Regions from separate parts of the Homo sapiens genome. Here regions 2, 3, 4, 5, 6 and 7 are each linked to region 1. Evidence: promoter capture Hi-C in 16 types of primary human blood cells and fetal thymus (Javierre and others, 2016). All regions are on one chromosome and are shown on one strand. The core of a region is centred on a gene start or on the middle of the fragment in contact, and the rest is flanking DNA. Distances in the headings are between cores, read along the strand shown. Region 1 holds the start of EGFLAM-AS1 (EGFLAM antisense RNA 1). Region 2 overlaps OSMR (oncostatin M receptor). Region 3 overlaps OSMR (oncostatin M receptor). Region 4 overlaps OSMR (oncostatin M receptor). Region 5 overlaps OSMR (oncostatin M receptor). Region 6 overlaps OSMR-DT (OSMR divergent transcript). Region 7 overlaps OSMR-DT (OSMR divergent transcript).

What was found. The method cuts DNA at HindIII sites, captures the fragments that hold promoters and counts their contacts. A CHiCAGO score of 5 or more calls a contact.
Region 2: a contact is called between a fragment that was not itself captured here and the fragment with the promoter of EGFLAM-AS1 in region 1, in 1 of 17 cell types (naive CD8 T cells). The highest score is 5.4, in naive CD8 T cells.
Region 3: a contact is called between a fragment that was not itself captured here and the fragment with the promoter of EGFLAM-AS1 in region 1, in 8 of 17 cell types (naive CD8 T cells, total CD8 T cells, M2 macrophages and 5 more). The highest score is 9.2, in naive CD8 T cells.
Region 4: a contact is called between a fragment that was not itself captured here and the fragment with the promoter of EGFLAM-AS1 in region 1, in 1 of 17 cell types (M1 macrophages). The highest score is 5.8, in M1 macrophages.
Region 5: a contact is called between a fragment that was not itself captured here and the fragment with the promoter of EGFLAM-AS1 in region 1, in 2 of 17 cell types (M1 macrophages and total CD8 T cells). The highest score is 6.0, in M1 macrophages.
Region 6: a fragment that was not itself captured here is called in contact with the fragment with the promoter of EGFLAM-AS1 in region 1 in 4 of 17 cell types (M1 macrophages, M0 macrophages, M2 macrophages and 1 more); the score reaches 9.5 in M1 macrophages.
Region 7: a fragment that was not itself captured here is called in contact with the fragment with the promoter of EGFLAM-AS1 in region 1 in 8 of 17 cell types (M0 macrophages, M1 macrophages, M2 macrophages and 5 more); the score reaches 9.7 in M0 macrophages.

The regions. Positions count from the first base shown.
Region 1 is chr5:38,424,740-38,429,124 of GRCh38, forward strand. It overlaps EGFLAM-AS1 (EGFLAM antisense RNA 1), which reads right to left and starts at 2,637. Exons shown (of 2, transcript NR_046737.1): 1 at 2,353-2,637; 2 at 116-342. EGFLAM (EGF like, fibronectin type III and laminin G domains) reads left to right here. Exons shown (of 22, transcript NM_152403.4): 13 at 228-353; 14 at 2,270-2,513. RefSeq lists an enhancer at 1,859-3,058. The HindIII fragment of the contact is 14,108 bases long and covers 1-4,385 here.
Region 2 is chr5:38,930,335-38,934,719 of GRCh38, forward strand. OSMR (oncostatin M receptor) reads left to right here. Exons shown (of 18, transcript NM_003999.3): 16 at 1,549-1,630; 17 at 2,129-2,201; 18 at 2,538-4,385. The coding sequence ends at 3,110. Among named protein-coding and RNA genes, the nearest start is that of OSMR, 87 kb to the left of the region's middle. RefSeq lists an enhancer at 3,123-3,292. The HindIII fragment of the contact is 2,288 bases long and covers 1,010-3,297 here.
Region 3 is chr5:38,912,245-38,916,629 of GRCh38, forward strand. All of the region lies in intron 9 of OSMR (oncostatin M receptor), which reads left to right. Among named protein-coding and RNA genes, the nearest start is that of OSMR, 68 kb to the left of the region's middle. RefSeq lists an enhancer at 4,380-4,385. The HindIII fragment of the contact is 6,135 bases long and covers 1-4,385 here.
Region 4 is chr5:38,891,979-38,896,363 of GRCh38, forward strand. All of the region lies in intron 7 of OSMR (oncostatin M receptor), which reads left to right. Among named protein-coding and RNA genes, the nearest start is that of OSMR, 48 kb to the left of the region's middle. The HindIII fragment of the contact is 2,090 bases long and covers 1,565-3,654 here.
Region 5 is chr5:38,876,042-38,880,426 of GRCh38, forward strand. OSMR (oncostatin M receptor) reads left to right here. Exons shown (of 18, transcript NM_003999.3): 3 at 160-332. Among named protein-coding and RNA genes, the nearest start is that of OSMR, 32 kb to the left of the region's middle. RefSeq lists enhancers at 2,694-3,195, 3,196-3,695. The HindIII fragment of the contact is 218 bases long and covers 2,320-2,537 here.
Region 6 is chr5:38,835,605-38,839,989 of GRCh38, forward strand. The region is part of intron 1 of OSMR-DT (OSMR divergent transcript); the gene reads right to left. Among named protein-coding and RNA genes, the nearest start is that of OSMR-DT, 8.0 kb to the right of the region's middle. The HindIII fragment of the contact is 2,533 bases long and covers 988-3,520 here.
Region 7 is chr5:38,796,020-38,800,404 of GRCh38, forward strand. OSMR-DT (OSMR divergent transcript) reads right to left here. Exons shown (of 4, transcript NR_109951.1): 2 at 334-450. Among named protein-coding and RNA genes, the nearest start is that of OSMR-DT, 48 kb to the right of the region's middle. The HindIII fragment of the contact is 624 bases long and covers 2,293-2,916 here.

The DNA.
Region 1 (4,385 bases), core at 1,387-3,886:
AAAGTCTCTATGGCTCTTCATACAGGACAAACCAAAATCAAATTAAAATGAAGAGCAGGTTCCACTTATCCTGAAAGCCCATTTGCAGTTGTGCAGAGCTGCAAATCAACAGGAGTAAGAACTGAAATGTATTTATTCAGAACCATGAGCTGCTGGTGGGGTCAGCGCCACTGTGTTGGACTGGCACACATGGAGGATTGGCTTTGTAATTCCCATTCTGTATTTAGGGGAATGCAGCAGTGGAATCTGTGATGAGGCCTCGTGCATCCATGGTGGCACCTGCACAGCAATCAAAGCCGACTCCTACATTTGCCTCTGTCCCCTTGGGTTTAAAGGTCGACACTGTGAAGATGGTGAGAAAGAAGCAAGTTGAAGGCGGTTTCTATCTGCATGTTAATTTGTGTAGATGTACTTTATCATCAATATAGTTTCTTTGTTAATTTGTTTGTTTGTTTTTGAGACAAAGGCTCCCTCTCTTACCCAGGCCGGAGTGCAGTGGCGCATCTCGGCTCACTGCAACCTCTGCCTCCCGGGTTCAAGTGATTCTCTTCTGCCTCAGCTCCCGAGTAGCTGGAACTACAGGCGCCCAGCTAATTTTTGTATTTTTAGTAGAGATGGGATTTCACCATGTTGCCCAGGCTGCTCTCAAACTCTTGACCTCAAGTGATCCACCCGCCTCGGCCTCCCAAAGTGCTGGGATTACAGGCGTGAGCCACCACGCCAGGCCTCATCAATGTACTTTTAACAAATCTAACAAAGCCCCATACATTTTTATGGGATCAACATTGCTTTGTTGGGAGAGATGGGGGAAACTTTTTAAACAAGGTTGGAGTGTCTCTGAGTGCCAAAATTTGTTTGGTAATGAGAACTCACTCATCTGATGTTGAGCCTTTCAGCACTTCTTACTGCAGGGCACCTCCGTCCCTCAGCCAAACATATGTTCATTTCAAGATGCTAAGAATCAGTGGGCTCCTCTTGGCCCTTGAATAACTTTTAAAAAGCCTGTATTGGTATGGTTTGTATCAGACTGAATTCAAAGCCTTTAAAGCTCAGGCTCATGCTCTTTAGAATTTCTGTCAATTTCTGATAAAAGATTGGGAAGATGAGGCCAGGCGCAGTGGCTCACGCCTATAATCCCAGCACTCTGGGAGGCCGAGGTGGGCGGATCACGAGGCCAACGTGGTGAAACTCCGTTTCTACTAAAAATACAAAAATTAGCTGGGTGTGGTGGTGCACAGCTGTAATCCCAGCTACTCGGGAGGCTGAGGCAGGAGAATTGCTTGAACCCAGGAGGCGGAGGTTGCAGTGAGCCGAGATAGCACCACTGTACTCCAATCTGGGTGACAGAGCGAGACTCCATCTTGGGAAAAAAAAAAAAGATAGGGAAGGTAGACACAGAAACGTTAACAATGTGATGGGACAAAAGTAACCTTTTTTTGTACTGTTCTACTAAATTATGCCACATTTTAATACTGTATATACAGAGAGTATGTAAATATATATACATGCACACACATGTGTATATAAACATGGAAACACATGCACACAAATACACATATGTGCGCTCACACAGGCAAATAATAACAGAAAATTTCAAAGATTTTGGAAAATCATGGAGGGTTCCAAAAGTGATTTTGGAAAATCATTTTTGCAGAATTCTGAAATTAAAATAAAAAGAAAATAAAACTGAGGCTAAGATCACAAAACTAGTCAAATTCTTCCCTAATTCAGATTTGGACCTAAGATACCATATTGGGGAAAACTTTTGTGATCTCAAATCTCATGTCACCTAAAAGAGGGCATGTGAGTCAGGGTAAGCCAATGCTGTTACATACCAGCTCATATTTCAGTAGCCTTACATAATCAAGGCTGGTTCTTGCTCATATTACAAAATCACTGCAGGTCAAAGATGGTGGTGAGAGAGGGGGTTCTGCTCCACACAGTTATACAGGGACACAGTTTCCTTCCATCTAATGGCTCTTCTAGGGCCTTAGAGTCCTCCACTGATACTTGCATCCTGCCAGCACGTGAGAGGAGAGAAAGAGCATGGAGGATGGAGGGAAGTTTTAGGGGCCAGACTTAGGGTGCTCTATGATTCTTCCACCCATGTTCTACTGGCCAGAATTCAGTCACACCACCAACCTAACTGCAGGGCTGCTGGGAATTGTAGTTTAGGTCTGTACCCAGGAGGGAAAGAACACAGCTATGGGTGCACATCTGGCCAGTTTCTGCCACAGAGGGATTTCTAACACCATGCTTGTTTTTTCAGCTTTCACCTTGACCATTCCTCAGTTCAGAGAGTCTCTGAGATCTTACGCTGCAACTCCCTGGCCACTGGAGCCCCAGCATTACCTTTCCTTCATGGAATTTGAGATCACATTTCGGCCAGACTCAGGAGATGGTGTCCTCCTGTACAGCTATGACACAGGCAGCAAAGACTTCCTGTCCATCAACTTGGCAGGGGGCCACGTGGAGTTCCGCTTTGACTGTGGCTCTGGGACCGGTGTCCTCAGGTGAGGGCTGAAAACTTCTGGGACTCTTTCCCTTAAAAAGGCAAATAGTAACTGCTTCAGAAAAAAACCAAATCGCCATTCAACAGCTCACACTCATCCTGTCTTCTCTACATGCTTATCTTCTGAAACTTGTCCTGACTTGTCCTGCTTCAGGCAGATGACAGGCTTCCTATAGAGAGTGCTCTCCTGCCCACAAGGCTTCCTTTTCTCAAATAACTACCCAACAGGTAGCAATTGTATGCTTCAAACTATGGAAAATGGACTTGCTTCAGGTGGAGGTAAACTGCCTCCATTTCCACCTAAAGTTATGTCATGTCATCCGCAGAAACTTGATGAACTGTAACTAGTCAGCATCTCATACAGAGCATCACATGATGGGCACCCAGCAAATACATGTCAACTAGTAAAAAAGTATTAACAAATATTTTTGAACAAAAATATCCTTGATGACCTCACTCTAAATATTCACTTTCCTCTTGAACTATTTCTTTAATGGAAATTGACAGTGAATCATCAGCAATGCAGAGACCCGTTCCCTAAGCAATATGCTCAAGAAAGATGTGTGATGAGTGGTTTCAATAGCATAGCAGGAAATGGGTGCTTCTGCAGTACTTGCTGGTATTTGCAGAATTGGTGTAAGTAGTCAAAACTTTCCTACTGTTATCTAGTTTGTACTATTAAATTACTTAGCAGGTCGATTGTTCCTTGGAGCCTGTAGTTGGTAGATGCAGACGCTTTTATTTGTTTATGTCTCCCATCTTTTTATTGTGTTGATGGTAGTTTTAACCTTCAAGCCAGAGGGGCCACTAATCGCATGCAGACATGCTTCTTGTTCCTACATTTGTCTAATTCGTCTTTTTTGAAACTCACTAGGATGTTTTGCTCCATGGTGCCCTGTAACAGGGTATCAGTTAGTCTGTTGTTTCAAAGAATATTGCAAACTGTTTTCAATCTTTATCCATATTGCTAGACTGTCATGTTTAAAAAGAGTATGTAGGTGAGATGCTACAACCATGCATTGCCCTTAACTACTGATCATTTTTCCTGGCTGATAGAAAATGCTCACTGCATTAGGTTTTAACAGTTCTTAAAAAGGATGGTTTGTTTTTGTCCTTGTGGCTGAATTCCTGCACATCAGTGACACCTTCCCCTCTAGGGGAACGGACAAATATTGTTGTACCTCTGGTTATGCAAAAACATCCTATATTTCAAGACAACTTTGGTGGGGATTTAATTGATTCAATTTACATATGATTATGCAAAATAGCCTAAGCAATTCACTTAGAACTGTATGTCAAGTTGACAAAGGAAGACACCTTGAATATCACCTTGCACTTTTAAATGGTTTTCTTCCTGGATAGGGAATGACCAGAAAGATCCAGGAGAGGTTCTGGGCTCATCAGCCCTCCTCCTGGACAGACTACCCCCTCCACACTGCCTCTCTGCAGTGGCAGCTCCAGCTGTGGGGTCACAAGCACATGGAACCCTTAGAAGTCCAGCATTTCTCTCTTTCATAACTCTGTGCTTATTTTTGACACGAGGTGCTTTTAATTTTTTTTTGTAAATTTACTAAGTTATTGTTTCACTGCCTGTCAGCAAAGGCAACTGGAAAAAGAATTTTTAAGAATTAGGTGATGAAAATGAGGCAAGAGTTTCTGAGGGACAAACCACCATCTGCCCCCTTATCCTATCCCCTCCTGAGCGTAAGCTAACAACAGTGATTACTCTTGGTGTTTCAGATGCCCCATTGGAAGCTGTTTATTTTGAAAACCATTTCAAAGACTTCTTGCTCAATTAAGACAATGCAGTGAAAACTCAAACTACAGGAAGTTGTGGAATTGGCCAGATCATTTTAACTTTAGGAATAGGATA
Region 2 (4,385 bases), core at 904-3,403, 510 kb after region 1:
TTTTCCCTAGAACCCTGTGTTGCCTCATAGCACGGGCTTGTGCATCTACCCAGGGCCACTTTTCTTTACAAAACTCCAACATTATCTGCCACACCACTGTCCCCAAATCAAGCCCCATTTCTTCCAGGACAGCCAGATGTGAGGTGGAGCATGGGGAGGGCAGGGGAGGCAAATGGATTGAACAGAATCATATGTAGATGTGAATAACTTAACCCCCTAAACCCTCCCTGAGCAATTTACATTTGTGAAAAGGGATGTTTACCAACCCAGCTGAATTATTATTTGGTGGAAATTGCAAGCAATGGGAACAGGAAGATAGTGTCAGTCTAATAACAGAGAGATACTCTCTGAAAGAAAAGATGTTTATTTGGGACTGAGCATTGTAATGGAAATACTTATGCCAAAATAAACTATAGTAAACTATGTGCATATTCAGGGAGGTAAAGGAAGACAAAGGTTTTTAAAGGAAAAAAAATGAGGAGGATTATATAATTGTTTTGAAATAATTATTCTTGACTACAAAGATTAATAATAAGGGTGATGCCAGTTCAAGGTTTAATGGGAAGATGCCCTTGCAGAAGCATTTTGTGTGTGTGTGTGTGTGTGTGTGTGTGTGTGTGTGTGTGTGTGTAAGGTTGTGATGGCCTTTGTGCAAGGTTGTGGTTTTCGTAGTGTTTTTTGTTATCTGCGTGGCCTTCCCAGCTCTATTTGTCAGGGTTTCCTACCATTAGTGATTACATTTTGGTTCTAACAGATTTCACAATGGTCATTTGAAATAAATGAAGCACCAGTTGACATATTGGAGAAATAAACGTAATCATTTTCCCAGATTAAGACATATTTATGTAATCTGAGGCTAACTAGAAGGAGTGCACTAGTCAATTTTTGATGTGTAACAAACACCCTCAAAAGCTCCGTGGCATACAAGAACAAATCTATCTTTTTATGCTCATGGGTTTACAGGTCAGCCGAGACTTGGCTGATCTAGACTGGGGTAAGCTGGACTCCAAGCTTCAGTCAGGTTCAGATTTGTTTCACGCATCTTCATTCTAGGGCTAAGGCTGAAGTCGCAGCAGCTACCTGGGGCACACACTTCTCATGCTGAGGAACACAAGAGGGCAAGCCGATGTATGCATGCACATTTAAAGCACTTACGTTACAATTACCAACAGCCCATTGGCCAAGCCAATGCACATGGCTGAGCCCCAAGTCAAGGGGCAGGATAGTATTCTCACCTACCATGAAGTTTTGGCAGGGGTGGAAAAGCATAATTTTAATACAGCAAGTCATGATCCAATCTATCAGAAGAGATAGATAGTAACAAATTTGAGACACACGGTGTTGATGGCAAATGGCTTCCTGTGTTGGTTGGCTAGTTGGTTGGTTGGCTTTTCCCCTGAAGTCAGGCAGAATTCATATTACAACTTGCATACATAATTTGAGAAATAATAAACATGTAAAATTACTTTCAATCATAAACTTGTATTTATTCCTTTGAGGAAGGGAAAAGTACTTATTAAAAATGTCCCTTTCTTTTTCCTCGTTCAGCCTCGATGCTGATTCATATCCTACTGCCCATGGTTTTCTGCGTCTTGCTCATCATGGTCATGTGCTACTTGAAAAGTCAGTGGTAAGTGTGTGAGGAAGGTTTTATCCAAGAAGAGAGTAAGAGAAAAGTCTGGAAAGAGATTTAGTAAGATAGAAATGACATTGAATAATATGAAACAACGTATAAAAAAGGAAAAGAACAAAGGAGGCTGGGGTGAGAGTATGTAATTTATTTCACAATTTTGTTTTCCAAGTGGCTATATGAGGAAACTAATCACCATTTAAAATAGACCACAAAATTTTTTCAACAGCAATAGCTAATATTTATATCTCTCTTACTGTATGTTTGGCAATGTTCTAAGTGCTTTATCAATTAATTCATTTAATCCTCATGGGGACACTATAAGTACCATAATTATCTCCATTTAGCCATAAGAAATTAAAGCATGGAAGAATTAAGTAACTTGCTTAATAAGTTACAACGCAAGGATTAGAAGCCAGGAATCTGACTCCAGAGTTCTTGCTCTTAACTCGTCCACTGTACTGTGAAATTCAGTCTCATTTTCGCTTTTTTTTCTAGGATCAAGGAGACCTGTTATCCTGACATCCCTGACCCTTACAAGAGCAGCATCCTGTCATTAATAAAATTCAAGGTAAATGTTGGCAAATTGTATGTATACCATATACCTATTAAGGACTAACCCAGAGTGGGGGCTGTCAGAATCCTACTTTCCTAGAGCTCCTCAGGAAAATATAGCACAGTAAAAGCCATCTTTGCACCCACAGCCATGAAATAGGTGATTGGAGCTTTGATTTCTTCTGTCAGGGGAAATCTTTTGGTTTTCAACATCACCTCCAGGTTACTTGTGACCAGGAAGAAACATGAAGAACATTGAAGCTCTAAGTGTATTTCACATGCTTAATATACTTTGATGCATGCATGCACACACACAAATGTCTATATTTACATATTTTTGTTTCCTTTCTAGGAGAACCCTCACCTAATAATAATGAATGTCAGTGACTGTATCCCAGATGCTATTGAAGTTGTAAGCAAGCCAGAAGGGACAAAGATACAGTTCCTAGGCACTAGGAAGTCACTCACAGAAACCGAGTTGACTAAGCCTAACTACCTTTATCTCCTTCCAACAGAAAAGAATCACTCTGGCCCTGGCCCCTGCATCTGTTTTGAGAACTTGACCTATAACCAGGCAGCTTCTGACTCTGGCTCTTGTGGCCATGTTCCAGTATCCCCAAAAGCCCCAAGTATGCTGGGACTAATGACCTCACCTGAAAATGTACTAAAGGCACTAGAAAAAAACTACATGAACTCCCTGGGAGAAATCCCAGCTGGAGAAACAAGTTTGAATTATGTGTCCCAGTTGGCTTCACCCATGTTTGGAGACAAGGACAGTCTCCCAACAAACCCAGTAGAGGCACCACACTGTTCAGAGTATAAAATGCAAATGGCAGTCTCCCTGCGTCTTGCCTTGCCTCCCCCGACCGAGAATAGCAGCCTCTCCTCAATTACCCTTTTAGATCCAGGTGAACACTACTGCTAACCAGCATGCCGATTTCATACCTTATGCTACACAGACATTAAGAAGAGCAGAGCTGGCACCCTGTCATCACCAGTGGCCTTGGTCCTTAATCCCAGTACGATTTGCAGGTCTGGTTTATATAAGACCACTACAGTCTGGCTAGGTTAAAGGCCAGAGGCTATGGAACTTAACACTCCCCATTGGAGCAAGCTTGCCCTAGAGACGGCAGGATCATGGGAGCATGCTTACCTTCTGCTGTTTGTTCCAGGCTCACCTTTAGAACAGGAGACTTGAGCTTGACCTAAGGATATGCATTAACCACTCTACAGACTCCCACTCAGTACTGTACAGGGTGGCTGTGGTCCTAGAAGTTCAGTTTTTACTGAGGAAATATTTCCATTAACAGCAATTATTATATTGAAGGCTTTAATAAAGGCCACAGGAGACATTACTATAGCATAGATTGTCAAATGTAAATTTACTGAGCGTGTTTTATAAAAAACTCACAGGTGTTTGAGGCCAAAACAGATTTTAGACTTACCTTGAACGGATAAGAATCTATAGTTCACTGACACAGTAAAATTAACTCTGTGGGTGGGGGCGGGGGGCATAGCTCTAATCTAATATATAAAATGTGTGATGAATCAACAAGATTTCCACAATTCTTCTGTCAAGCTTACTACAGTGAAAGAATGGGATTGGCAAGTAACTTCTGACTTACTGTCAGTTGTACTTCTGCTCCATAGACATCAGTATTCTGCCATCATTTTTGATGACTACCTCAGAACATAAAAAGGAACGTATATCACATAATTCCAGTCACAGTTTTTGGTTCCTCTTTTCTTTCAAGAACTATATATAAATGACCTGTTTTCACTTAGCATCCTTTGGACTCTGCAGTAGGTTGTCTGGGTCAAGATAACTCTCAGTCACATTTATATTCATATTATGCTAAAATAGTAAAATGAAACCTCATTGTTGGACATAATTTAGATATAACTAAAAAGTTCTATGAAGTGGGAAATTCCGTGTTGGCTCTGGAGCAGCTTTGTCTCCTCTGAACCAATATATCCCAAACCAATATATGCAAAGCACCTGGTACACAACTGGTATTTTAGTACATGTTGGTTCTTTTGGTGCAATCTCAGCTCACTGCAGCTTCCGCCTCCTAGATTCAAACAAACAGTTCTCCTGCCCCAGCCTCCAGAGCACCTAGGACTCCAGGTGCATGCTACCACACCTGACTAGTTTTTATATTTTTAGTAGAGATTGGGTTTTACCATATTGGCCAGGCTG
Region 3 (4,385 bases), core at 1,414-3,913, 490 kb after region 1:
GATGTACAAAAATCAGTAGTATTTCTATACACCAATAAGATTCAAGCTGAGACCCAAGTCAAGAACGCAATCCTACTTTCGATACTCACATACACAAAAATATCTAGTAATACATTTAACCAAGGAGGTGAAAGATCTCTACAAGGAGAACTAGAAAACACTGCTGAAAGAAATCATAGGTGACACAAAGAAATAGAAAAATATTCCGTGCTCACAGATTGGAAGAATCAATATCATTAAAATCACTGACTCCCCAAAGCAATTTACAGATTCAATGCTATTTCTATCAAACTATCAATGTTATTTTTCACAGAAATAGAAAAAAACTATTCAAAAAATTGATATGGAAACAAAAAAGAGCCTATATAGACAAAGCATTTCTAAGCAAAAAGGACAAAGCAATAGGCAGCACATTACCCCAGTTCAAACTATACTACAAGATTACAGTAACCAAAACATCATGGTACCAGTATAAAAACAGTCACATAGACCAATGAAGCAGAATAGAGAACCCAAAAACAAAACTACACACCTACAGCCATCTGATCTTCTACAAAGTCAACAAAAATAAGCAATGGGGAAAGGACTCCTAATATAATAGATGGTGCTGGGATAGCTGGCTAGCTATGTGTGGAAGAATGAAGCTAGACCTGTACCTTTCACCATGTAGAAAAAATTAACTCGAGATGAATTACAGATTTAAATGTAAGACCTCAAACTATAGGAATCCTAGAAGAAAACCTAGGAAACACCATTCTGGACATTGGCCTTGGGAAATAATTTATGACTAAGTCTTCAAAAGAAATTGCAACAAAAACAAAAATTGACAAGTCAGACCTAATTAAACTAAAGAGCTACTGAACCACAAAAGATACTATCAAAAGAGTAAGCAACAACCTACAGAATGTGAGAAACTATTTGTAAACTATGCACCTGACAAACACCTAATATCCAGCATCTATAAGGAACTTAAACAATTCAACAAGCAGAAAGCAAACAACCCCATTAAAAAGTGGGCAAAAGGGCCAGGCGCGGTGGCTCATGCCTGTAATCCCAGCACTTTGGGAGGCCGAGGCAGGAGAATCACGAGTTCAGGAGATTGAGACCATCCTGGCTAACGTGGTGAAACCCCGTCTCTACTAAAAATAGAAAAAAATCAGCCAGGCGTGGTGGTGGCTGCCTATAGTCCCAGCTACTCAAGAGGCTGAGGTGGAAGAAAGGCATGAACCCAGGAGGCGGAGCTTGCAGTGAGCAGAGGTCGTGCCACTGCACTCCAGCCTGGACGACAGAGTGAGACTCCATCTCAAAAAAAAAAAAAAAAATGGGTGAAAGACATGAACAGAGAGTTCTGAAGACATACAAGCAGCCAAAAAACATTAAAAAATGCTCAACATCACCAATCATCAGAAAAAGTCATATCAAAATCACAATGAGACACCATCTCACACCAATCAGAAAGGCTATTTTTAAAAATCTTTGCATGTTGTTACTGTTTTTATTCTTTAGCTACCCCAGGTAGCTTCTGTAGCAGTCAGCACCACTGTCCTGCTAGACCTTCTGTAAGTATTAAAAGCCAATGTTCTTACAAGAACGTTTTTGCACAGAAGGAGGTGTTACACAAAAAGGGGGAAGGTTAAGCTACTGTACGCATTTGTTTGCAATGTGTCATCTCACAGAACTCATCCCTGTAACCCCATCAGGGCAGGAGCCTTCTTCACATGTCTTCATAATATTTCTTAAGGGAGGCCATTTTCCACAGTGCTTCAGATCTCAAATGCAAGTGGAGCCTGACATAATAAAACTCTGGTTTCATTTCAACCATGATGCAGGGAATATATTCCATGTGTATTAATAGGTTGTAACAGTTTTCTAGGGCTTTAATAACACAGTACCACAGACTGAAGGACTTTAACAAGAGAAATTTAGTGTCTCATAATTATGGAGGCTAGAAATCTGACATCAAGCTGTTGGCTGAGGTTGTTTCTCAGAGGCCACTCTCTTTGGCTAGTAGATGGTCATCTATGTCTGCTCACAGGGTATTCTCTTGAGCGTCTCTGTGCATCTATTGCCTTTTCTAATGAGGACACAAGTCAAAATGGCTATTACTAAAAAGTCAAAAAGCAACAGATTCTGGGGAAGCTGCAGGGAAAAGGGAACACTTATACACTGTTGGAGGGAATATAAATTAGTTCAACCTTCGTAAAAAGCAGTTTGGAGATTTCTCAAAACAGAGCTACTGTTCCACCCAGCAATCCCATTACTGGGTATATATTCAAAGGAAAATAAATCATTCTACCAACACGCATATGTTCATCACAGCACTATTCACCATAGCAAAGACATGGACTCTACCTAGGTGCCCATCAATGATGGATTGGACAAAGAAAATATGGTACATATACACCATGGAATAAATAATGAAATAATGTTCCTCCCAGCAACATGGATGTAGCTGGAGGCCATTATCCTAAGCGAATTAATGCAGGAACAGAAAATCCAATACTGCATGTTCTCACTTTTAAGTGGGAACTGAACATTGGGTATTCATGAAAATAAAGATAGAAACAATAGACACTGGGGACTACTAGAAGGGGAAGGAAGGGAGGGGGCAAGCGTTGAAAAACTAACTGTTGGGTTCTATGCCCACTGTTTGGGTGATGGGATCATTCATATTCCAAACCTCAGCATTGCACAATATACCCATGTAACAAACATGCACATGTACTCCCTGACTCTAAATAAAATTATAAAAAGAGAGTTTCTAGGAAGTATTTTTAAAAGTATTTCAAAGGAAAGTAAAATGTAATAGGGAGGGATATGATTCACTAAATTTGATTATTAACTACAGAATGATGAAGTATTTGACTATGGTTTCACATGAATGAGTTATATGGAAATATGCTAAATTACTTTCAAGAACATAATAGCATGCACAAAGAAGTCTGGAGGTTAAAGTAGCACTCAGGTGATGGACTTTGAATTTATGTTTTCATAACCAACTCTAATTTAATGAAATCATAATTTCTCAAAAATTTGACAGCACTGGGATATGTATTTTGAAATATAGTAAACCCTATCAATGATAGTAGACTGGTAAAATACTGATTTGCACCTTTCAAAAAGGATGTTTTTCTCGATTAAAATAAAGTTTGTGATTTGGCAAACTGAGAGTTGGAAGAAAAGTTGGAAGAGTTGGAAGAAAAATAATTCATGTAAAGTTAAGGAACCTACTGATAAGTAATTTGGATTTTATATCATTACTCTAAAATGGAATCTGGACTATTAAACCATTAGATTATGAAACTAACAACTCTATATCACATCTTGTATTTAAATTGATTTTTGTTATCACAAAAGTTATTTAGGTTTGTAGCAGTGCTACTAACTCTCTTAATTAGATACTTGAATTTAATTCAGTTATTTTTATTAGGGGCTATGCTAAAATATTCAAGCTATCTTTAAGAATTAAAGGGAAGTTTCAAAGTAAACATTAAAAATAGAAGTCATATGAGACATGCTATAGTTGTATTTTCAAATTCAGAAAGCTGAAGCAGCACGTTCACAAAATGTGATTGAGTAGAGAGATAAAGATGTTTTTTATGTCTGGATTTAAAAATGAGATGTGCTGTTAGGACTCAGTTGCAGAATGACATCAATACCTGTGAGTCCCTTTCTTGTTTGTCTCCATGGATGTGCTATAATTGGGTCATCTATATCTTCATCAGTTAAAGCCTGATATTTCTTGTGGCTTATGAATGTTTTAAATTCTCTTTTGACTACTTCTTGTTGTACTATTCTTGTGAAGTTCATACCATGACAAAATTGTATCAGTAGAAAATTTGATTCTATGTGGAATACAGAGTATTACATAAATCCAACAAAACAATTTACAAACGAAAAGATGTACTCATCTTAATAGGACTTTCATAATATTTTTATCAATCAATGATTAAAACGTGTGCCTTTTTAAGATTTTAAAATAAATTGCAATGATTTCATTATTTTTCCATTGCTGAGATTTTTTTTAAATGAGAATTTTGTTGAACTTGTCATGCAAGCTGAGCCTTCAATTGACCATCCATTTTCTAAAGATGAATAATGGAATGACCAGACCCTAACTACCTTGAGTTCAAATCTTGGCTTCACTTTTACTTTCACCTGGGTGATTTGAGAAATTAACTTACTCTCTCTGGGTCTTAGTTTCCTTATCTAGAGAATGGGGTAAATAATCATACCTGCCCCATAGAATTGTTATGAGGATTAAATGAGTTAATATATGCAAAACATTTGGAACTGGGCTGGCATCTAGTAACCCCTCTATAAATATTAGCTATTATTATGTGTAAAAGAGATCCCCCAAATGGTTTAATACATAGGTACCCAGA
Region 4 (4,385 bases), core at 1,360-3,859, 470 kb after region 1:
GCTTGGGCTCCAGCACAATAACCACACCCTCACCTGAACACTGTGGGCAGTCATGGCTCTGAGTTCCTCTGGGGAAAAACTCCCAGAGGTAGTAAGGTGTGGCACCCGTGCGTGCCCCCAAAAGTGAAGTCCAGCATCAGTTGGATGGGAGGAAGCAGGAGCATGTCATGCACCCCACAGCTGTGTGTCTTCATTGCTTCAGCTGAGAAATCCTGCCCTCCCTGGTGAAGGGCCCATAGCCTAACCTCCCTGCCACTACCTGAACATTTCAGCTGTGGCCCAGAGCCCTTCTGAAAACCCAGCCCCCACTGGCCTGGGATATTCCCTTGGGCTCCCACCATCTAAGTGTTCTGCCTGCCCCTGCCTGAGAGTTAGTTTGGCTGGAGACCTGGTGGCCAGCCTGCCCCACCCCATCATAGACAGCACCTGAACTCCAACCCCAGTCTAGCCCCTTCAGAACTCATACATGTTGTCCTGTGGGTCATCTAGCTCCCTGGGAACTGTGGAAATACCTATCTCACTGCAACCACTTCCCCTGAAGCCTGAGATTAGGCTGACTCAACTAGCCAACACCACCGTAACCAACATCCACTCACGTGGGCCCAAAGGTGATGTCCCCCCATACAAGAAGTAGCAGTACTGCCACATCGGAGAACAGACAAGCCATAAAGCTATCTGTATTGGGTTGAGTCATGAGATTATGCTGTGAAACCACTCCCACAGAGTCACAAAACAGACATTTCCCATGGCTTTCAACCACATTGTGGACTGCAGATAGACTACAAGGTACACCTGAACTAGGAGTCACAAGTCCTAGAACAGGGGAGTGATAGGGAAACAACTCAAGTTCCTGCCTATCTAGGATGGGGAGCTGGTGACGCCACCTTACCCCCTACCCCTACAGAGACCTAAGTGCACTTACAGGAGCTTCTTCTAGCCACCCTTGCCAGGGCTAGTGCTTGTGCTCACCATTGGGGTATTTGTGGGCAAGCCAGGGGCTCCAGCTCTGCCCACATTTGTCACCCTACCTCTGCAGAACAGGAACCCCAGAGTACTGGGCACTCTACTGTCCAGGGCTTCACCTGAAAAAACAGAGCACTTCACAGTAAACACAGACAGGATACTTACCTGCCTACTTGTGTAGCAGCTGGCTCTTACCCGCAAGTGTCATCTACTGGCCTATAGGCCAAGCCATGCAGCTCCAAATGAAACCTGCTGACAGAAGTACCTAGGGCTATAGGTGCAAAGCCAAAAGACCTTACCCCCTCCAGATGAGAAGGAAAAAGCATAAGAATTCTGGCATCATGAAAATCGAAATGTTGTGACAACATCAAAGGATCACTCTAGCTCCTGAACCCAAATGGAAACTCAGAAATGACAGATAAAGAATTTAAGGCATCAATTGTAAGGAGGCTCGAAGAGATCCAAGACAAAGTTGAAAATCAACATGAAGAAACTTCTAAGTCAGTCCAGGAAATGAAAAAAGAGAAACATCTTGAAAAGAAATCAATTAGAACTACTGGGACTGAAAAACTCACTTAAGGAATTTCAAAATACAATTTAAAGCTTTATTAATAGACTGGATGAAGCAGAAGAAAGAATTTCAGAGCTTCAAGAATGATTTTTTCAAACCTAGTCAGACAAAAGTAAAGATAATTTTAAAAAATGAACAAAGTCTTTAAGAAATATGGCATTATGTAAAGCCACTAAACATACAAAGTGTTGGCATTCTTGAGAGAGCAGGAGAAAAAGTAATCAATCTGGGAAACAAATTTGAGGGAATAATAGAATAAAACCTCTGTAATCTTGCTAGAGAGGTAGACACCCAGATACAAGAAATCCAGAGAACACCTGCTGGATTCTACACAAAACGAACATCACTAGGGCATATAGGCACCAGATTGTTTAAGGCCAGCACTAAAGAAAAAATCTTAAATGCAACTAGAGAAAAAGGTCAGATCACATACAAAGGGACCCCCATCAGGCTAACAGTGGACTTCTCAGCAGAAACCTTACAAGCCAGAAGAGATTGAGGGTCTATTTTCAGCATTCTCAAAGGAAAGACATTCCAACCAAGAATTTCATATCCTGCCAAGTTGAGCTTCATATGTGAAGGTAAAATAAAATATTTTTTCAGATAAGCAATTGCTAAGGGAATTTGTTACCATTAGACCAACCTTACAAGAAATCTTTAAGGAAGTTCTAAATGTGGAAACAAAAGAACAATACCTGTTACCACAACATCACACTTAAGTACCTAGCCCATAGACCCTATAAAGGAACCGCAGAATAGAAACTACAACCAGCTAACAACTTCACAATAGGATCAAAACCTCCTATATCAATATAAATCTGGAATGTAAACAGTCTTAACACCCCCACTTAAAAGGCACAGTGAATTAAATTAATTATTGAATGAAAAAGAAAAAAAAAGAAAAAACAAGACCAATCTGTCTGCTATCTTCAAGAGACCCATCTTACATGTAATGACATCTATAGGCTCAAAGTAAAGGGTTGGAGAAAGATCTGTCATAAAAATGGAAAACCAAAAAGAGCAAAAAGATATTCTTATATCAGGTAAAACAGACTTTAAACCAACAACAGTTAAAAAAGACAAAAAAAAGGCACTACATAATGATAAAGGGCTCAATTCAATAAGAAGACTTATTGATTCTAAATATATATGTACCCAATACAGAAGCACCCAGGTTCATAAAACAAGTACTTCTTATTTTATTACCTACAAAGAGACTTAGATAAGCACACAACCACAAAAAAATAGTTGGGGACTTCAACACCACACTGACAGCATTAGATCATCGAGGGAGAAAACTAACAAAGAAATTCTGGACTTACATTCAACACTGGACAAATTGGGCTTAAAAGACATCTACAGAACACTCCACCCATCAACCACAGAATATACATTCTTCTCATCTGCACACAAAATATACTGCAAGATTAACCAGATGCTCGGCCATAAATCAAGTCTCAATAAAAGCAAAAAAAAAATAAAAACTTTTAGGTAAACAACAAAATGAAGGAAGAAATTAAAAAATTCTTGGAAATAAACAAAAACAGAGACATAACATACCAAAATCTCTGTGATGCAGCAAAAGCAGTGTAAAGAATAAGTTTATAGTGCTAAATGCCTGCATCAAGAAGTTAGAAAGATCTCAAATTAACAATCTAATATCACACCTAGAGAAACTAGAAAAACAAGAACAAACTGACCCCAAAGCTAGAAAAGAAAATAAATAACTAAAATTAGAGCAGAACTGAATGAAATTGAGACCCCAAAACCCATACAAAGGCTCAATGAAACCAAACACTGGTTTTTTGAAAGGATAAACAGGATTGATAGACCACTAGCTAGACTGTAGTTTTGATTTGTATTTCTCTGATGATCCATGATGTTGAGCACTTTTTCATATGCCTGTTTGCAAATTGTATTTCTTCTTTTGAGAAATGTCTATTCAGGTCTTTTGACCATTTTAAAATCAGATTATGAGATTATTTTTCCTATAGAGTTGTTTGAGCTTCTTATATATTCTGGTTACTTAATCCCTTATCAGATGGGTAGTTTGGAAAAAATGTATTCCCATTCTGTGGTTTGTCTCTTCACTTTGTTGATTGTTTCCTTTGTTGTGCAGAAGCTTTTTAACTTAATGAGATTCTATTTGTCCATTTTTGCTTTGGTTGCCTGTGGTTGTTGGGTATTACTCAAGAAATTTTACTTGCATAAATTATTCCAATGTCTCGGAGAGTTTCCCCAATGTTTTCTTGTAGTAGTTTCATAGTTTAAGGTCTTAGATTTAAGTCTTTAACACATTTTGATTTGATTTTTTATGTGGCTAGAAATCGGTGTCTAGTTTCATTTTTCTGCTTATGGATATCCAGTTTTCCCAGCACTATTTATTGAAGAGACTGTCCTTTCCCCAGTGTATGTGTTTTGGCACCTTTGTAAAAAATAAGTTTACTGTAGATGTTTGGATTTATTTGGGGTACTCTAGTCTGTTCTACTGGTCTATGTATCTGTTTCTATGCCATTACCATGCTGTTTTGGTTACTATAGCTCTATAGTATAATTTGAAGTCAGCTAATGTGATTCCTCCAGTTTAGTTCTTTCTACTTAGGATAGCTTTGGCAATTCTGGGTTTGTGGTTCCATATACATTTTAGGATTGTTTTTTCTATTTTTGTAAGGAATGTCTTTGGTATTTTGATATGGATTGCAGTAACTATGTAGATTGCTTTGAGTAGAATGGACATTTTAACAATATTGATTCTTCCCATCTATGAACATGCAATATGTTTCCTTTTTTGAGTCTTCTTCAATTTCTTTTATCAATGTTTTGTAGTTTTCATTGTAGAGATACTTCACTG
Region 5 (4,385 bases), core at 1,179-3,678, 450 kb after region 1:
AAATTCTCTTCCAGATTTCCAAGGTGTCTGATTCTAGGATGCACATATGAGCAATATTTTCCAGAGCTAAATAATGATGATATTCAAGTTTAATTATTTCTGACTCTTCAATCATGCTCCTATTAAATATTATTTCATACTTCATTTTGATCTTTTCAGTCTTGGCTGAACGTTTACCATTGACTCCTGTATCACTTAAAGTTTCCACCAATTCTACGCGTCAGAGTTTGCACTTACAATGGACTGTCCACAACCTTCCTTATCATCAGGAATTGAAAATGGTATTTCAGATCCAGATCAGTAGGATTGAAACATCCAATGTCATCTGGGTGGTAAGTAATTTTTTTGGCTCAATATTTAAAAAATCATCTTTAAAAAAAGACACCTTGGTTTTCTTTTATAACATCTGAAAAATTCTCGTTTTGGAAATATATTAGCAGCTCAAAACAGTTTGTCTAAACAATTACATTTCTGCATTTTCTGTTAATGATCCAGGACAAAGTAACATGACAACTTTGGTTTGGTAGGTAGGATGGGATGCACTAAGAAAATAGATTTTCTCAGTTTTGCTCTGTCTTCTAAGAAGACTGTTGAGTCTGTCCTCGTGAATACTGAATTCCAGAGAGCCACGAAGATTAACCAATTCATTCCTCCTACCTCTTTCTTCTCCGTCCTCCAGAGATTTTCCTAAATAAGATGTAATAATTTGGCAACATTTTTCTTTCCAATGTAGCTTCCTGAGAGTTTCTTGGCCTATACCCAGCTGAAGTGCAGGGAAGAGTAAGTGCTAGCACTTAATGTTCCATCCAACAAGGAGCCATGTTGGAGAGTAACTTCCTGTGTCCTTTGTTGCCTTACATGTGGCTTTTTCCACAACAAATTAAATTAAGAAAATACTGACTTTCACACTCTTTTTGTCTTTGAATTCTTTGGGGTGGATTTTTCACTTAGTTCAAATGATTATTGGGTCAGTTTTGCCTGAGGTGTCCCCATCTAGTGCACTAGGACACATGAGTGGTTTATGATTTCCATTTCTCATCTGGGAACTCTAGTAATCTATATGCACATAATGTTCAGTCATTTTCACGGGATATTTAAGGACAGTGGAATGTTTTCTCATTAAAGGAACTGAAAATTTTCCTACAGGTAAGAGAAGCCTAGGACTGTGCTTGGGCCCTCTGTCAGCTCAACCAGGCTCCTGTCTTCACCCAGGTAGTGGAGGCTTTGGGTACACACATACAGCATGGTTAGTTCCTTTGGTAAGGCATACAAGTCACTAATTTTAACATCTTCAGTTACTTTCCATATTCATTATTGAAATTTGAGATCTGCGCAAGTTAAATAAAATTTTGACTCTGTCCACTTAGGATTCATACCTAGTCTATAATTCTACCTCTCAAAGGGCAGTTTCCCACAATGAGACTTATTTAGTATGATGATTTTCAACAACAGCAATACTTCTGTGTAGCTGTTTACTCCCTGCTATCAACACATCTTTCCACTATCTCACCTTATACTAGCAAGTCTGATTTTTGTATTTTTAATGGGTACACTTGTTGGTAATTTGGGCCCGGTAAAACATTGAAGCAAAGGTCATATTGAGACTAAGGATTATCTACAAAAAGAAAAATTGAGGTGGAAGTGCTGGAGGAATTGTGGAAAACTAGCACTTAGCACCGTTAGCAAAAATAACATTAACCATAGACTACATGGATCCTATTCTTTATTTTTCCAAAAGACAACTCATATCTATTATTATGTTACAAAAAATAATATTAGCCATACACCAAGTGGATTTTTTTATTTATTTTCCTAAAAAGCAGTTGTTCATATCTGTTTTCATATTTGATTCCCGTAAGAGTCCTCTTTTCAAGGGAAAGCAGCTAGTGTGGACTATTTCTGTAATCTTCTAGGGCTCAAGACCCTTCAGGGTAGAGTTTTGCCTTGTCTATCGTGTTGTCCTCACAACACCCAACCCAGCCTGACTACAACAGTGGAGAAACCACAGCACAGAGAGGTTTGTTGTGTTGCTCCAGGTGACAGAGGCAGGGTGGGATCATCCTTCACTCCTGTGCCCAGAAAGGGATGACAGTCACATGCAGCCCCCAGGCCATCGGTGGACACATGTCCTATGGAATAGATGATGCCTTGAGAAATGCTTGTCTGAATCACTCATGCCTGAAGTTGACGAGAACTATCCTCCTCCAGTTAAGGAGGAGGATGCTGCTTCTGTTTAGACCAAAATCTCCCTTATACAGGGAAGCTCCCTGTAGTGCAAGCCTGACAGGGCACTCTCATTCATGCTGGGGGCTGGGGGGAAGCTTCTGGACTCAATGTCTCGGACACCTCTGTTCCCAAACAAGTCAAAGGAAGAGCACTTGCAGCTGGACCAGAGGCACCGACCTGTCTCCTGGATGGTACTGGCCATTTGGAACCCTGAACTGCATGGTCCTGCCCTCCTGGGTCATGGTCCTCCCCTTCCCTTTGCTTTTTGATTTTGTCAATGGCATAGGAAGGCAAAGTAGAGTAAGAGCTCAAGCTTGGAAGGAGGCCAGGTGTGGGAGTCAAATGTCTCAGTAACAAATCAGTGACCTCTATTAGACTTCTGTGTAAATGTGTGTGCCAATTTCTTGTGACTTACTGATGTCTGCAAGGATCAAATTAAACCTGCCACTTCAATAAATGAAATGACCCAAAGACAATTCATCATATTTAAAGAAAAAAAATCAATGAATTGCAGTACTTAAGGAAAAGTTTTATCTCCTACATTAACAGGGCTGTAAAGACCACAAAGCAGAAGTTGAGGTTAAACAGGTTCCACACATAAATAGTGTCTGGGGGAAATACAACTCATTGCATATTAATGAAATGATTAAATCATTCAGTCCAGAGTTTTAGCCTGTGCTCCCAGATCAGGCATTGTGCGCAGTGTGGGAATGTCAGCGCTGAGCACACTGGAAAGAATGAGGAGGTGAACACACGCATAGGGTATTCTACACACGGGCTGTGTGTGCAGGTCACTGATGAGATGCTATGAGGTTCGGGTTAGGCCTCACCTTCTCCCACAATTTGGATAAAGGGCTGTTTGAGACCAAATATCCAAGAGGATAGAAGTTACTTTAGCAAGTAGAGTAGAAAAGAGTGCTCTGAGCAGGCCCAACAGGCATGAGCAGAGGCGCTGAGAGAAGGGAATTTCCAGGCCTGAAAGCCCGCTGTGGTGCTGGATCCCCAAGCACATGAGGACAGGGGCACAGGCCTAGATGCACAGGACCATGGAGTGCATGCTCAGGTTTTGTTTTTTTATCCCAAGGGCAATAAGAACAAAGGAAGTGGCAAGCTCTGATTTGAATAGCCGCACAGCGGAATGTGGTGGGGAACTGGGGCAAGGGATGTGTGGCCGCTAGGAAGCGAGCTGTAGGGTTCAGCCAAAGCGGAGATGCGGGTAAGAGAAGTGGCTGCATTTAAGGGACAGAAGGGAGGTAAAGTTCAGTCTGTGACTTGTTGGCATTAGAGCGAAGTTGCCATTATTGATGTACTTCCTTCTAGCAGGGGTCTGGGGGAAGAGAGGAAATATTTGCTCCTTTTTTTTTTTTTTTTTTTGAGATGGAGTCTCACTCTGTTGCCCAGGGTGGAGTGCAGTGGCGCAATCCCAGCTCACTGCAACCTCCGTCTTCCGGGTTCTAGCGATTCTTCTGCCTCAGCATCTTGAGTTGCTGGGATTACAGGCACGCACTACCACATCCGGCTAATTTTTGTATTTTTAGTAGAAATGGGGTTTCACCATGTTGGTCAGACCGGTCTCAAACTCCTGACCTCATGATCTGCCTGCCTTGGCCTCCCAAAGTCCTGGGATATTTGCTCTTAAATTTTAAAAATATTTAAGCAAAATGTACTTGACATTGCTCATGTTAAATAGTGAGGGTTTCATGGATCAGGACCTCACAACTTGTTAAGGAACATATTTTGTGATCTAGGAGTAAAGTAATGCAAGAAATGGAAATAAAATATAAACATTTAAAAAAACACAGTCTGCAGAGAGTGAGAAAGGAAGCCCACAATTAAATGCCCCCTGGGTGGACCAGGATGTTTTCAGCCCAGGGCTGGGTTTAATTCTGTCAGGGGCACTGTTTCAAGTTTGTGACCTGAATAGGGGGCAGACATAATTAGTAGAAGGCATCCGAGTTGCTAACGCCAAGCAGTGTGTGACATGTGACTTGTCCCATCCCCTTCACTGAGGACTTATTATTCGCCCTTAGAAACATGGATGCAGACTCGAACTCAGGTTCCCCCAGTAAGTGTCATGTGTGTGTTGTCTCCACCTTGCAGCTGTGGGGCAGGAAACAGGAGCGTTGGAGGAGGCACACTGAGGAGAAAGCATGCCTGGA
Region 6 (4,385 bases), core at 1,004-3,503, 410 kb after region 1:
TGCAAAAATTATCATATGACATTCAATATCTTTCTTTATATCTGGCTCCAAACCTTCTTTATGAAGAATGTTTTACTTCCTTCCAATAGACATCTCTCTTTCCATTTAGCAGGCCTGGGAATTGCCTTTTCAATAAAGTCTGTTTTTTTTTGTTCAGATCTTTCTACCAGCCTGGAATTTCTGCCTCACTGCCTAACAGTCAGTCAGACATCTCTGGGTCTTCTTTGGTTCCAGCAAGCAATTTAGTTTCTTCCTCTCTTTAAACTGGGAAGTACTACCTTCCTTTCAGCTCTGACAAGGCTATACTGTAGAAAATGGGTCTCTCCTCCCTCCAGTTTCCCTGCAACTCAGAAACCCATTCAGAGCTTAATCAAGCCAGCACTGTCCCTGGAGACATGCAGAGCTGGATAGTGCTAATGAAATAGTTGGTAAAAGGATGCCTTCACCAACAAAGTATGCTTGCAAACAATCTTGCTGTTCCCATAAGAAAAATCAGCCCTCCTTGTCAGGAGGAAGATCCCCTTTCAGACACACCCTCTTGCTCATTTCCTATAATTCTGTTGTTATCTCTATTATCTGTCCTAGGCTCGTACTTTTTCTTTCTCGTAGCTCTTAAACCCCTCCTCCTTAACAGTCAAAAGTCATCACTCCTCTGAACTCCTGAAAGACTATTGCCTGTGCTTCTCAATCGGTGCTTATCACAAATAGCGTTTATTGTCATAGTCCACAACTGGACAGTAAACTTCTTGAGGACAGGGACCAAGGCACAAGTTGTTTTATGGATTATCCAAAGAACCTAGTGCAATACCTTGTATATAAGCATTTTATAAATATTTATTGATTATAAATTGAATATAACATTCAAAAAATAACAAGTGATGCTTCTTTTCTAGCAAGGCATTCTTTGATTTCAAAAATCATTATTTTTAAGAAGTAAAAATACCAATGATAAAAAGCCAATCTGCACAGACAGCTCTGAAAAGCACAAGCTTCTCTTACTCCTCATCCTTCATCTTTATAAAGACCTTCTCCACAAGAATAACTTGTTACCAATTTCTTGTAATCCTATCCAGAACATTCTTATGTATCTACTCCATAAATATTAAGAAATTAAATAGATGAAATGGATATACTATATATACATTTCTGACTTCTGCTTTTTCACTGAGTTGTGCATGATGGACATATTTCCATAGGTGCACACATATATAATCTTCCTTCTTTTGAAAGAATGAATCATAGTTTTCAGTCTTCTATTAGCAGATTTTTAGATTGTAGTTCTTTGTTACTACAATATTCTTCTAATGAGCATTCGTGTGTTTGTGTGTGTGTATATAATTTTGCAAGTATGGATGTTTGTAAGCCTAAATATCCAGTCAAGCAGAATATTCTTTAACTTTTTTATTCTTTTTAAAAACAGGGAAGATTTTCAGAAGAAATTGCCTATTGTCGTCTTCTTTTTTTTTGAGATGGAGTCTCGCTCTGTTGCCCAGGCTGGAGTGCAGCGGCACCATCTCGGCTCACTGCAACCTCCAGCTCCTGGGTTCCAGCGATTCTCCTGCCTCAACCCCTGGAGTAGCTGGGACTACAGGCATGCATGAGTACGCCTGCTAATTATTGTATTTTTAGTAGAGACAGGGTTTCACCATATTGGCCAGGCTGGTCTTGAACTCCTGACCTCAGGTGATCTGCTCGCCTCGGCCTCCCAAAGTGCTGGGATTACAGGGGTGAGCCACCATGCCCAGCCTGTCTTCTTTTTCAAAACAAACATTTACAATTTTATGTTTAGGCATCATGTTCCATGATCTTATGATAGGAAGATAAGTTCTTATAATTATTTGTGGTTTGAGAGCTAAGAAAATTTATATAATAACATTTCTTTCTTTCTTGGGTGTGCTATCATTTTCTCTCTTAGCTTGGTTGCTTCGTATTAAATTTGAATAAACATGTTTCCCTAGCCTGTTCTCCATATATTTCCCGTGGGAGTATGAAAACTATCTGACCATTATTCCAAAGTGACTAAGCATCATAGGCCACAGTATAATTGGACAAAAGGAGCTACATTTAAGTAGCTGATAAGATTGAGTATAAAAGTGAGTGCTTTTAGGAAGTTTTTGTTTTAGTGTACATGGAGGTAAGTTAAGCACAAATAAGGTAACAAACATAAAGGTATAGCTTACTGTAACTCACTCAAATGAATTTTGTGTTTAGCATTTGAACAAAGTTCAGAGGAAATCCAAGAATGCATTTAACTATTCTCTTTTTTTGATTAAAATTCTTTCCTTTGTATTATAGTGGTATTAATATTTATTTAAGCCTTCATTCTAAAGTGATGTTCAGCCATAATAGATTAACCGTACCTGATTTCAGAAGGTTTTTACTCAATTTCCAGATTTAGGTCTATGCAAATGTATTTCAATCTTCTGAAAAACTGGGTTGCATCCAAAAGAATGTTCTACTGGAGAGAAATCTAATTTAGCAAAGGAAACAGTTCATACTAGCTCCTCCCAATAACCTAGCCACTTAGCAGATATAACTACAATTGCAGGGAGTGCTACTTTCAGCCATTGCTGAGTAGCTCTGTTTAATTGACTGCCCCTCCCCAACATATAACAATATAAAACACTAGAAAAATATTGTTAAAAATTAAAAACAATTATCGGCAGTGGAGAGTGACCAACACCAGGCAGATTGTGGAGGAAAGTCAACACTTGGCAGAGGAAAGGCATGGAGCAACTTTCCCAAATTTTATGACCCTCAGCCCAAGACTAGTGCATGTCTGTGCAATGTGAGGTAGCTAAAACTCTGTTAGAAAATATGCAATATTTCTAGTTTGAAGAACCAGGGGTCAGGGTTCACAGCAACAACATTATTTGGAAAGTGAGGCGGGAAAACATAAAGGAGGGAGCAAGAGAGGAAGAAGCCCAAATTCTGTATTTAAAATAAATACCAATTATTGGATAATCTCTGAACCATGCTTGTGCAAGGCAAACTCAAAGCAGCCTGGTCAACATTAAAAAGTGAATTCAGATTTGAGCTTCTACTTACTGTAAGCAATATCAGGTTTGCAGTTTGAGTTTAACCACACTGCTTGCCATTTTAAAAGATAATCAGTGTCATTGGAGGAATAGAACAGAATCTTCATCACATAATATTTATAACGCACAGGTTGCACTCCAAAATTATTTGACAATCCAAAAATAGGTAAATAAAAAAAACAGGAAAATGTAATCCATTCTTATAAAAGAAAAAAATCAGTGGAGATTGACTAAAAGATGATGTAAATATTGGAATAATGAAGCAATGTTTTAAAAGCAGCAACTATAATAACTATGCTCAATGAAGCAAAGGAAAATATGTTCATAATAATAAAAAGAATAGGGACAACCAGTATAGAAATAGACAATATATTTTAAAAGAACAGATTGAAATTCTAGAACTGAAATATACCATATATATGACACAAAATTTACTAGATGGATATAATAGCCCAACGAATATAACACAAAAGGAATTTGTAAGCTTAAAGATAGTTCAATAGAAATTATTGAATCTGAAGAGCACAGAAAAAAAGTTGAAAAACAACAGAGGCTCATGGGCATTTAGGACTATATTAAGGGGTCTGACATACTTGTAGTCGGAATTTCAAAAAGATAAGAAAGATAATGGTGCAGAAAAGGTACTAAAAAGATATACAGGCTGAAAAATTCTCCAATTTGGTAAAAGACATAAATTTATAAATTCAAGAAGCTTAGCAAATGCCAGGCAGGGTAAATAATAATTTTAAAACTTCTAAGCACATAGTTGATAAACTATTGACAATCAAAGATAATGAGAAAATATTTAAACCAGAGAAAAAATGACACATTATATTGACAGAGGAAAGAAGAATCAAATAATGGCTGACTTCTCATCAGAAGCAATGAAAGGCAGTAAAATGTAGAACAGTATCTTTAAATAGTTGAAAGAAAATAGAATTCTATCCAACAAAAATATTCCTTGAGGACGAAGTGAAATAAAGATATTTTCAAATAAAATAAGACTAATACTATGTATCTCCAATAGACTTCCAATAAAAAATATACTAAAGTAAGTTTGTTAGGCTTACAGAAATGCTACCAGAGAGAAGCTTAGATCTTTGGGAAGGATTTAAGAACATTAAAGGTAAATATGTGTATAAATATAAAAGAGTAGTTTTCCTCTTAATTTCTTTAAAATACATACTATATTGTGGGTTTTATCTTGTCTGTAGATGTAATACACTTTACAACTATAGTGTAAAGGATGGGGTGTGTGGTTAAATGGACCTATTAAGTGAAAAGGTACAATACTATTTCAAGTACACAGTGAAATTTAAGAATGTACACTGTAATCCATAGAGAAAA
Region 7 (4,385 bases), core at 1,355-3,854, 370 kb after region 1:
TTCCAAAACAAGAAAAGAAAAAAAAGCTTTTCCCCCCAAGAGCTTAGCGGGGAGAGGCAAATGAAACAATACAAGACAGAGATGTGGCCTGAGATGAGTCCAGGGAGTTTTAAATAGACCGTGTCAGAGCATGGACGGGTTTCCAGGGACTTTTTGAGAAAGCAGAGAGAGCTATTTGGATGGCGACCAGGCTGGCGTGCTCAGCAGAGGGGTACAGGACCTAGGACAGTGTGTACCCTATTCTCCAAGGAGCCTCTGTTCCTTAGACTTTTAGTTTTGGAATCTTCAACTTATTAAGTAACATGGTAAGAGAGAGATTAAAAAAAAACTCACCTTGCCATTTTGCCAAATCTGCTTTTATTTTAATGACTCCTGCAGTAAGATGCAGATCTTCTTTCAATTTTCTACTTGCTGATTAATTTCCTGTTGACTCTCAACATCACTGAAAACCTTTTGGATGAAGCAGAAATAGCCTTAATGCAAGTGATTCTTGGTTAGGGGGTTGAGTCATCTGGGGCCAGGCTTTGGGGGCTTCCTCTGAGCTGAGGGTGGGTGGGTGGTTTTTGGCACTTGTTAATTTAATATGTGTCCATTTGTAAACATATTCAACACAGTCATTCTCCTGCTTCCCATGTCCCGGGAGGGTTGGCCTCATGTTCATCTCTGGAGGCCCAGTACTCACCCATGCTATGGAAATCTCTCTGCCCTCATTCTCCTGCCCAGCCACCCTTCTTTGACTTTTTCCATCAGTGTTGACATTTTCCTTTCTTTCCCCTTGTTAAGGTTCCTAAGTTTAAGGCCTTCCACCCAGCTATCACTACCTCCTGGAAAGAAAACATTTTATGTTAGTCATGAACACTTGGGTGTGAATTTAGGTCAGGTGACTGCTCCTAAGGGCACTTGAGTATCAACCCTTGCATCTGAAGGGTAGGGAGGTAATAGGCCAGTTGTTCAAAGATTCCACCCTACTTCTGGTTCTGCAGCTAAATGGCTGGGTTTCCTGGGTCAGATACTTTACTTCATGGAGCCTCAGTTTTAAAAAATATCTATTAACAACATAAGTTTAACTAGATGATTTCTAAAGCTCTTTCCTACTTTTAAAGCTATGAACTTCTAGTCCCAATATTAGAGGGGGATATCTGAGGATAGTTGAAGCCCCCCCGACCTCTGAGCCTATCATGTTGTTCTCTGCCTTCATCACCCAGATGCCAAGAGATCCTAAGGTACCTTCTACCGACTGTGATCCAATGTCCCCGCTTTTCTCTTGGAGTTTTTGCTAGGATTTTATGCAAGAAAAGGCCCACTCTTTATTCTGGGTAACATTCTTAGTACTGAAACGAGAAAAATTCCTTTGTCCCCCTTACAGGGTGTGCGATGGGGGTGTGGCTCGCTTCTTCAGTGTCCCGCCGCTCAAACCTCTAGGGGAGCATACAGAAGGGCAGGCTGTGGGGGCTCTGACCCCACGGCAGTGTCTAGGGGTGAATGTGTATGGCTCCTGAAGCCCGAGTGGGCATGTGTTACAGGATACTCTTTTAGTTTAGCCATCTGTAGGCAGCTTGTTTGTTAGCTCAACTAGACCCCCTTCCTTATCACAAGGACAGAGGGGTTTCTGTATCCCGGGGTTTCTTGCCTTGGTGTACCAGAAGAATCAGATCACACCTAGGCTTGGAGAATGAGTGCAAGATTTTATCGAGCAGAAGTAGCCCGCAGCAGATGGGGGAGCCAGAAGGGAGCTGGTTTCCCCCGGAGTGGGCTGCGGTGGCCCGGGCTCTCCTCCAACTGCCCCGGCCAAACTCCACCTCATTCCACCGGTGGATGGCCTGCTGGTGGACGGCCTGTCGGTGTGCCACCAGCATGCTCCCCTAGACGTCCTCTCGCCCACCAGCTTCATGTGTCTTCTTCCACTGATGTGCTCCTCTCAACGTCTGGCCACCTGTGTCTGCCTGCTAGGGTCTCGGGGTTTTTATAGGCACAGGATGGGGGTGTCGCGGGCCAGAGTGGTCCTGGAAAATGCAACATTTGAGCAGGAATGCAGGAGTGCCTGTCCCCACCTAGGTCCGTGGGGGTAGAGCCCTAGCCAGAGACCACGCCCTCCTCTACCCGGCACTTCCCCTCCCCCTTTCCAGATCATTTAAAGGGACCACGCTCTTCCCTTCCTGGCACTCCCAAATCAGTATGAATATTATAACTGATATTAATGTTCCTATTACTAGCTTCCTCACACTCACCTAATACGATGTGACCAACAAATAAGTTTAAAACGAAGAAATGTGAAAACACACATTTGGTTGAAGCTTAAAGCCTGTAAACCAAAAAGTATCTGAGACAAGCCTCAATCAATTTAGGAAGTTAATTTTGCCAGGGTTAAGGACATGCCTATGACATAGCCTCAGGAGGCCCTGACGACATATACCCAAGGTGGTCGGGGCACATCTGGGTTTTATACGTTTTAGAAAGACACGAGACATCAAAAAATATATATGTAAGGTGTACATTGGTTTGGTCCGAAAAGGCAGGACACCTCGAAGTGGGAAGGGTCCAGGTCTTAGGTAGATAAAAGACGAATGGTTGCATTAAACAATAGGGCGAAGGAAGCAATCAGATATGCATTTGTCTCACGTAAGCAGGGGGGATAACTTAGAGTTTAATTTCCTTGTGGGCAAAGTGTGAGGGAGGTGTGTAACTTTTTTATCTTAGTAGCTGTTTTAGGAATAGAATGGGAGGCAGTTTTGCCCTAAGCAGTTCCCAGCTTGACTTTTCCCTTTGGCTTAGTGATTTTGGGGTCCCAAGATTTATTTTCCTTTCTCAAGCCTTTCTACATAATTGCTGTCGCCCTCCTGTCTCCAGGTGTGTGTTCGTTGCATAGCGCTCTAGGCAGTTGTTTCCAACCTTGGCTACACAGTAAATTTCCTGAGAAGCTTTTATTTCTTTTTGTTGTTGTTATTGTTTGTTTGCTTTTTTATTAGAGACAGGGTCTCACTCTCACTCAGGCTGGAGTGCAGTGGCACAATCCTACCTCACTTCAGCCTCAAACTCCTGGGTTTAAGAGATCCTCCTACCTCAGCCTCCTGAGTAGCTAGGACTACAGTCCCACGCCACTACACCCAGCTAGTTTTTTTTTTTTTTTAAAAAAATAGGGTCTTGCTATGTTGCCCAGGCTGGTCTCAAGTCAAACTCCTGGCCTCAAGCAGTCCTCCCACCTTGGCTTCCCAAAGTGCCGAGATAAAAGGCATGAGCCACTGTGCCCAGCCCTGAGGAGCTTTTAAAAGTCCCATGCACAGGCCAGCTGCTGACCCAAAGACATCAGCCTCTTTTCCTGCAGTGGGACCAGACAGTAGTATTCTGAAAAGTCCCCGTAATTCCAATTTTCACCAGAATTGGAGATCTATTTAGGGCATACACAGGACTTGAGGAACATCTGAGGTGGAGCTATGTCATCTAACCCCTGCGTGGACGAAGGCATTACCTCGGATTTTTTCTTTTTCTTAAAACCTACGCAGATTAAGAAGTGTCCTTTTTATTACTCTGTGTTTCACTGGGGAAATCATACTTTGTACCTTTTCTCTCAATTTCTTCTTTTACCTTGAGTAACCCACATGTTGGCCTCCTGGGTGTCCCAGGTGCCTCAGACTTGAGGATCTTCCTGTTCTCTCATATGTTCAATTAACTTTCGTTAAGCCTCGTGTTCAGCCAACACATCTGAGGATTCCTGAGGGACTCATATTTCCACTGACACCTCTTCCTGCTTCTCCTAAATGTTTTGTCTCTGCTCTCTGTGCTATCTCCTGCAAGCATCATCTGTCTTCCTCATTATTTTTCTCCGTTACCAACGCCATTCCTATTACTTCATTCCCTCAAAGCACCACTAACAAAAGACTGTGTGTGCAACAGACTTTCACGGATATTTTAGTGCTAATGAAGGATTATTACCACACAGAACAGCACAGGCATCAACTTAAAATTGAACGTCAGACATTACCGGCCTAACATCCAGTGGCCGTGGAAAATTCCAGTCATGTAGAATTATTTTTTACTTTTTGGGTCACACCCACTCCAGAGGCTTTTTCATCTTTTCTCTAGCTCTTAGGCTTGACTTGCCCAAATTCCTGACACTTCTTTTATGCAGGGATAGTCAGCTTTCCACATCCTCAGTGAAAGTAGCCTTTGGCTGACTTTGACACATCCCTCTGCCCATTCACTCAGCTAACCCAAGGGCCAAAAGCACAAAGGGATGCACAAACGTTCCTCTTACGTCATCCCTTTCACCTGGTCATCTTTCCACGCAGAGCCACCCTCCCAGGTCGTGGCTTCCAACTGTCTGCCCTCTTTGTTCTGTTGTGCTCGTTGTAGTCTGAAATCAATTCCTTGATTTAACAATCGGTCTC